3 separate regions of the Homo sapiens genome follow, and regions 1 and 2 are each linked to region 3. The links are contacts of gene promoters, found by promoter capture Hi-C in blood cells and fetal thymus (Javierre and others, 2016). All regions are on one chromosome and are shown on one strand. The core of a region is centred on a gene start or on the middle of the fragment in contact, and the rest is flanking DNA. Distances in the headings are between cores, read along the strand shown. Region 1 has its middle 170 kb from the start of MAT2B. Region 2 has its middle 190 kb from the start of MAT2B. Region 3 holds the start of LINC03000 (long intergenic non-protein coding RNA 3000).

What was found. The method cuts DNA at HindIII sites, captures the fragments that hold promoters and counts their contacts. A CHiCAGO score of 5 or more calls a contact.
Region 1: a contact is called between a fragment that was not itself captured here and the fragment with the promoter of LINC03000 in region 3, in 1 of 17 cell types (naive B cells). The highest score is 5.7, in naive B cells.
Region 2: a fragment that was not itself captured here is called in contact with the fragment with the promoter of LINC03000 in region 3 in 2 of 17 cell types (naive B cells and total B cells); the score reaches 5.9 in naive B cells.

Annotation. Positions count from the first base shown.
Region 1 is chr5:163,669,970-163,672,669 of GRCh38, reverse strand. No RefSeq gene overlaps it. Among named protein-coding and RNA genes, the nearest start is that of MAT2B, 170 kb to the right of the region's middle. The HindIII fragment of the contact is 5,335 bases long and covers 1-2,700 here.
Region 2 is chr5:163,691,192-163,693,891 of GRCh38, reverse strand. No RefSeq gene overlaps it. Among named protein-coding and RNA genes, the nearest start is that of MAT2B, 190 kb to the right of the region's middle. The HindIII fragment of the contact is 179 bases long and covers 1,301-1,479 here.
Region 3 is chr5:164,295,283-164,297,982 of GRCh38, reverse strand. LINC03000 (long intergenic non-protein coding RNA 3000) reads right to left here and starts at 1,278. Exons shown (of 5, transcript XR_001742489.2): 1 at 787-1,278. The HindIII fragment of the contact is 4,689 bases long and covers 1-2,365 here.

The sequences.
Region 1 (2,700 bases), core at 43-2,542, 630 kb after region 3:
TGTTGTCTGCAAATAGGGATAGTTTGGTTTCTTCTTTTTAATCCATGTCTTTTATTTCTTTTTATTGACTCTGAGACTGGCTAGGCCTTCTAATACAACGTTGAACTGGAGTGGTGAGGTAGGACATCCTTTCCTTGTTCCTGATTTTTAGGGGGAACAAGGCTGTGTGATAATAAATATGATTTGTGATATAGGATTTTTTAAATAGATAATTTTTATTAGCCTAAGGAAATTCTCTTCTATTCTTAGTTTTTTGAGAGTTATTATCATGAATGGATGTTGAATTCAGGAAAAGCAAATACTTTTGTTGCATCATTTGTATGTCCATGTGGGTTTTCTTTAAAGTATTGATTCAGTGGATTATCTTAATTTGTTTTTAAATATTAAACCAGCCTTATCCCCAGGATAAATTTCTCGTAGTCATATTACAGTATTATTCCTATACATTATAGATTCAATTTGATAAAATTTTATGAAGTCTTTTGCATTGATGTTCTATTGTTTTGAAGTTTTCTTTCCTTGTAATGTTTTTGGTGTTTCGTTTGTTTGAGACAGGGTGTCACTCTGTCACCCAGGCTGAAGGGCAGTGGTGCAATCATGGCTCACTGCAGCCTCGACCTCCTTGACTCAAGCAATTCTTCCGCCTCAGCCCCCCACGTAGCTGGGACTACAGGTATATGCCATCACACCCAGCTAATGTTCATATTTTTTGTAGAAACAGGGTTTCACCATGTTGCCCAGGCTGGTCTCGAACTCCTAAGCTCAAGCAATCTGCCCACCTCAGCCTCTCAAAGTGCTAGGATTACAGGCGTCAGCCACCATTCCCGGCCTGTCTGGTTTTTAATATCAGAATAATTCTAGCTTCATAAGATGAATTGGGAAGTATTCCTTCCTCATTTATTTTCTTGATGAAATTGTGCAGAATTTGTGTTTATTCTTGTTTAAATGCTTGCAAGAATTCTCCAGTGAAACCCCCTGGACCTGTAGATTTCTTTTACATAAGGTTTTTAACTGTAAATTTATTTTTTAATAACAATAGGGCTATTTAAGTTACCTATTTCATCTTCAGTGAGTTTTAGTAATTTGTATTTTTCAAGGAATTAGTACATTTTATCTGTTATTGGATTTATGTACCAAGAATGGTTTGTTGAATTTCTTTATTATCTTTTTAATGTCTGCAAAGTCTGTAGTGATATCCATTTATTTATTCCTGATATTGGTAATCTGTGTCTTTTTTTCCATTTTTAGTCAGTTCTTATTAAGCAGTATCTGTGTACTTTTGGCATTTTTCAGGTTTTCTACAATAAACATTTGTTATTTCATAATTAGAAAAATGTTATAATAAAATTTTAAATATCATTTTAATTTTAAACTTGCTTGTTTCTGCATTTAAATTAATTTAAATGTATAATAAATTTTATAACATGAGGCTGATATATGGACTAAAAGTGATAATGCACATAAAAATACTGTGTAATTTATACACATGTTAGCATTATAATTACAGATAAGCAAAGGAAGACAGTTGTATAATTGAAATAGAAAAATATAAGAGTTTTCTAGCAATAAATAAATGGCAACATTTATATTGTGACTTGGGGAATTTAGAAGAACCTAAATTTTAAAACATGTTTTCTGACAACATTTAGAGCAAGATTGCCCACAATTAGACATATGACTTTTATTTATTTAGAAATTGTAATCAGTTCTGGAAATCACTAATTACTAATAAACATTCAAAATCAAAGAATCGTGGAAGGTAGGCGATGATTTCATTATTTCTGAAGCATCCAGTATAGTTCTTAGAAGACCAGTCACTTAAACTGAATCCCATAGTACAGTTAATTCATTCATATTATTTAGGTCCCCAAATTGATTACATGTGGGCTTGGAACATGCTGGTTTACTTGTCCTACCTTTCTTTTTTATTATTATTATTATTATACTTTAAGTTCTAGGGTACATGTGCACAAGGTGCAGGTTTGTTACATATGTATACATGTGCCTACATTTCAAATTTAATCAAAACATAACTACTATAAACCTCTTCTGAAAAGAAATGATCAGATTATATACTTTTAAATTTCATATTTTATATTAACATGGAATTTAGAGGCAGATAGGAAGACAGGAAAAGTGGATTATATTTTCTTTTAAAGTGCTTAACGGTGGGCTAGTGCAACATAAATACTGTTACCATCTCTATCCCACAAAAAGATTTGCTGAATTCCCTCCCTATGAAACCCAGGAACACTCTACCTAGCATTGGGAAGATGCCATGTTATGAAGATCTCCTAAATACTGATCTCTCAGAGCCCCATGAATTGAAGACAGGAAAGAAGCTGGGGAAATGACAAGATGAAAAGGACTCCAACTGTAGGAGAAAGAAGAGCATTAGATGAAGCCAACACATTCAGCTATGATTTATGCAACATCCAAGTACTAACTCTCAAGCCAACAGCATACTTTCAGGCTATATGCAACCACCAAATTACCATAAATTAAGCTCAGGCAAAAATAAGGCCATAAAATGGACATTTTACAGTGGCTATTGACTAGGATGTTCAGTTTCCATTAAATATTCTGAAACATTGTTACTTTGTCAACTGAATTAGTAACTGGTGTCTTCTTGGGAGGGAAATATATAAGATTTCAAACTCCATATATATTACTCACCACAATTAAAGTCACTTGCTGTAA
Region 2 (2,700 bases), core at 141-2,640, 600 kb after region 3:
GTAATGGGATTGCTGGGTCAAGTGGTATTTCTGTCTTGAGGTCTTTGAGGAATTGCCACACTGTTTTTCACAATGGTTGAAGTAATTTATCCTCCCACCAACAGTGTAAAAAGCATTTCTTTCCTTCCACAACCTTGTCGGCATCTGTTGTTTTTTGACTTTTTAATAATAACCATTCTGACTGATGGGAGATGGTATCTCATTGTGGTTTTGATTTGCATTTCTCTAATGATCAGTGATGTTGAGCTTTTCTTCATATAACTGTTGGCTACATGTAGTCTTCTTTTGAAAACTGACTGTTCATGTGGCAACACTTTAAGTTATAGAACACTTTGTTTTGTCTTGTTTTCAGCTATTTATTTAGTGCTGTGGGTATATTACTACTTTAATTACTCAATTTATGACAAAATTTCTTTAAATACTCAGGATTATACCTTTCAAAGATCAATTGCCTTTTAGAGCATCTTGGGCTTTGGAGAAAACAGCTCTATTCATTTATTCAGCCAACCATCTATTATGGAACAAATAGTTATAAAGCCTCTTATTTCTGCAAGGTGCTAAGTGCCCTCTGTACTGGGAATATTGAGGTGAACAAGACAATGATATTCTTTAAAGCTTACCACAAGAAAAAAACTTTGAAAGCCCATTGGAATCATTCAACCATTCCAGAAATATTTATTAAGCACCTATTAGGTGTGGAAACACTGTGCTAGACACTGAGGGATATAGTGAACAAAATAAACAAAATCCCTGCTCATTTAATCCCTCACACTCTAGTGTCCCAAGTGAGCATCAATTCAAAAAAAGTAGATGTATAGCAACTAATGTGAGGTTGTCCTTATAACATAGAAAAGCCAAGTGTCATAAAAATATGAAGGAAAGAATAATTAATTCCAACTTGGATAATGAGATTAGAGGTGAATGTTAAAGAATGGGTAGGATTTCAAGGTACTTTCTAGGAAAGACACTTCAAAAGTTTGAGGGCAGTGGAAGTCCATTATTAGATGTCTATTTTAGGATTTAACTCTAGTAGCAGCCAATAGGAAGTGTCAAAGGGAATAAAGAGTGGGACCACCCAACAGCTGTGGATGCCTTTGATTCAATTTGGGGGAGAAGGAGATTAATCAATCATCAGGGGTGTCAGGTGCCTGTTCCTCAACTTCCTAGAATCTAGATGCTTATCTAGTGCCTTCTGCTTTGGCAAGGGAAAAGAATGAGAGTCACTATAAACAGGTCACCCTTGACATTTCACAGTGGTTGAAATTAACTGCCATGGGATAATAGCATCGAGACTTAAGCTTATAACAAATGTTACTTTCAAATCAGTTATGCAAATACAGCTTTAAGAAGGCTAATATATGTAGATTTATGACTACTTCCTTAAAGGTAATGATTTTTTTAAAACTGCACTAAATTCTGGGAGGAATTTATAATCTAAAATAAAAATAGGAGAAAAGCAAACAATGGACCTCTAAAGCTTTTTATAAACAAAGTAATGCAGTTTGTTCTACTAGAAATAATAATATAAACTCACTCACTTCTTTTCTCACATAGCACATTTTACTGAGCTTTCGCATATATCAGAAGGCAAAAGCAGCCAGCAATCTGGAGCACTGGCACATAGTAGATTTCATCTCATTTTGCATATATAGGGCTTCATGCTATGGAATTAACAACTTTTAGATTGTTCTAGTGCAACCATTGAGCTATTGCATTTGGATATGATGTATATTTTTTAATTTAAATAAATGCATTTAATATCGATTTTTTTCATCCATATTTAGTATGCCATCCAAACTACAAAATACACTGATGATTTTTTTTTAAAGCCCTTCTGGAGCTGAAAAAGTCTTCTATGATGTTATGTGATGTTTCATTTATACTTAGTACAAATTTACCCCTCTAGAATTTCACAGCTTTCTCTAGTCCAATCAATAATTATTGATAGTTTATAATATAAAAAGTTATCCTGCAGATACTAAGCAAGCACTTTACATGGTATGCTTTTTGAGATTCAATAAAGATACAGAATTAATTTATTAGATATGTGGTTACTGAATTAGCAAAGCATTGGTATACAACCAAAATAACAAATTTTATAAGAAGACATATGTACTTCTTGTTAATAAACACATTAAGCATAATCAAAGGTGAATGTGTTCAAGAGAGCCTTTCTCTGGTAGTAAAACCCTGGGTGGCAACTCCCTGGAAAGGCTTTAAGGACCTACTGCAGTGGAAAGAAGTTTTCAAAACAACTCCTCAATGACATGGGGAAAGCAACTTAAGAAGTTATTAGCAATTTTGGCTGGGTGCGGTGGCTCACTCCTGTAATCCCAGCACTTTGGGAGGCCGAGGCGGGCAGATCACCTGAGGTCAGGAGTTCGAGACCAGCCTGGCCAACATGGTGAACCCCATCTCTACTTAAAATACAAAAAATTAGCCGGGCATGGTGGTACGCACCTGCAATCCCAGCTACTCGGGGGGCTGAGGCAGGAGAATCGCTTGAACCTGGGAGGCAGAGGTTGCAGTGAGCCGAGATTGTGCCATTGCACTCCAGACTTGGGGACAAGAGCGAGACTTCGTCTCAAAAAAAAAAAAAAAAGAATTTATTAGGAATTTTTAAAAATGTTCATAATTGATGTTTATGAAATTTCACATAATCTCATTCAGATTACAGATGAGAAAACTAGCAGACAGATA
Region 3 (2,700 bases), core at 29-2,528:
CCCAGCTATATCAACAACTCCGAGTGACCTCACCTGAAAGCTAATTTTATTTTGTAAAAACTGACAAGTGAAGATGGAGACCAGTTATAAAAACAAAGGTAATTTTGTAATTTTTATGTAAAGCAAACTCGAGACTCAATGATATCATACAGCATGTGAATTATCACCATCCTTGCATTTTCTCTTAGTCTTACAAATATTTCACATGTTCATGCTACCTATTGATGATATATGTATGTACACAAGATAACACCTTCTCAGTAAAGGCTAGAACAGCACATCTTTCTGACTGAGTAGATTACACCACATGGTAATGATGTGATCAAACTCCACAAGTTATGTGCCTCATCATTAGTTTCCCCAAACTATGAGGTTTAAAAAAAAAAAAAAAGCCACTAAACATATACACAGCACAGCACTGTAGCAAGAGAATAATTTTGGCTTATCCAAATGATAGTGAATAATTCAGTACATTTAGAAAAAAAAAATATATATATATATTATGAAATGCATCCCAGATCCCAGTTTAAGTTCAAGTTCCCAACTGTGAACTCAGAGCTCATGGAAATACAATTATGTAGATTCCTCTTAGCAAAGATTTAGTAGTGGTTCCTTCATTTAACAGCAGTTTTTTCTTAGTGAAATTATTTACTTGAAGAGAGGCTAATATGAAGGGAAAAAGGCAGTTCAACATAGACCAGGCACAATATAAAAAAAGTATTCATAGTTTAAAGTGTGTTAAAGTGTAATGATGTCACAAATAGACAAATCTTAACTGCGTCTTACCTGTAGTAGCAGAGTGTCTTGATACTGTTGAGTGTCGAAAAGATGCAAGTCTCTAAATTAGAAAACAAGGGGCTGTTTGCGCTCCCAGTTTCAGCACAGCCAGTGTTCTATGCGTAAGTAATAAATTGCCTCGTCAAAGTCGTCCCAGCCACGGTGTTCATAGGCAATAGTTAGAATCACTGCCCGAAGTCTTGCTTGATGCTGCTCCCACAGCCTCTGCCTTTGCACAGAGACCTAATGTAGGAGTGAGCCGGAGAACATCCTCTTCGCCCCCCTCTCTCCCCCTCCCTTTTGCGTGGTCTTTCTTCCTCTGTAGCTCACTCTCTCTCACGAATGGAGAGTTATCCTTTGGTTCATTCGGCAGTCAAAGAGGACAGGCTGGCAGGCAACAGTGCAGCTGCCCCCATGCTGAGGCACATGAATGTGTTGTGAATAAAGACAAAGCCCTGAACCAGTGCAGCACGTTACTCCCTGGAAAAGCGCTGCAATGATACTCTGCACTGCAACTCCTCAGGCAGGCAGGCAGGCAGGCAGGCAGGCAGAGCGGTGGACTGAATTTCCCTCGCTTTCCCTCCTAGGAACGTACATTATAAAGTTTGGCTCAGGACCTTGCTTCTCCTCTAAGGGACCACATTTTCTGTGGGTAAAAAATGTTTTATTAAATGTCTGGACACCCTGAACAAAACTATTTTAGATAGTTTTCTACTCTGCTAAACTTGGAGAACCTACCTCATTCCCAAGCTGTCGCCAAAGTAACTGAATTTTCTAACTTTGGAAGATAAAGATCAGGTATGTTAGGCCCCAGAAAAATGTTTTCATGGTAGGGGAAGATGAATTTCTCTAGTCTCAGTATTCCTGAGGGACTGAGTAGGGAGGGTTGGGGAGAGGTGAGCAAACAAACAAAAAGCATCCATATCTCACAGGTGCCAAAAATAGAAACTGAGATAAACTAAAGTGAAACTGATGAACGAGTCTGAAAGAAGGTAAGTGCAAAGAATTGAACAGAGTGAATTAATGGTACTCACTGGTTTCCTATAGCTATCATTCAGTTTTGATAACAAAAAATCATCCTACTTATATACATCATGTTTTGCTGTGGCTTTTGCAAGTATTAATAGACAAATAAACGTAGGCTAATATATACCACATATTTAAGAAAGATTTAGCAGATAATGGCCTACAGGTATTTGCATAAAGAGAGTCAGAAGTTGTTTTCATGCTAACAAAACTACAGGTGGTTACTAAACTATGGATACAGAACTTTGAGATGCACACTCTCAAATACTGGTCCTAATCAATGTATACTGTAACGATGAGACTTTTAAAGCACAATCATATAATGTAGGCAACAGTATTTGGTAAAATAATTAAGTATAAGTTAGGATGAGACTTTTCCATGAATGCCAAAACACCTGAAGTAAATAGTTGCTAGACTAAAATATAACTTTATTTCTATCCCTGATGAAAATGAAGTCTGCAGCTAAGTGTTCCAGGGCTAGATATGAGCTCCATGATATCAGGAACTAGGCTCCTTGTTGCTCCACCATTAGCAACACACTCCAAGATAGTATCTCAAGCTTTAGCCACTAAATTGGTATTCAAACTTCAGGAGCTGAGAAGAATGAGGACAATATGTTCCCTATTTAAGGACATACCTTGGAAGTTGAACATGACATGTTTTTGACTAGAAATTAACCATATGGCCAGAGCTTACTGCAAATGAGACTGGAAGACTGGAAAATAGAGTGTCTATGTGAAATGGCCATGTATATGGCTAAAAACCTGAAGAGCCTTTTACTTAAAAAGAAGAAAACAAGGGAATATGGGGGAAATAATAGTGTCTGCCATAGTAAGATTGATGGATATCGTAAGTGATATCACAGCATCCGTTTCACCTTTATTCCATTGCGAAGT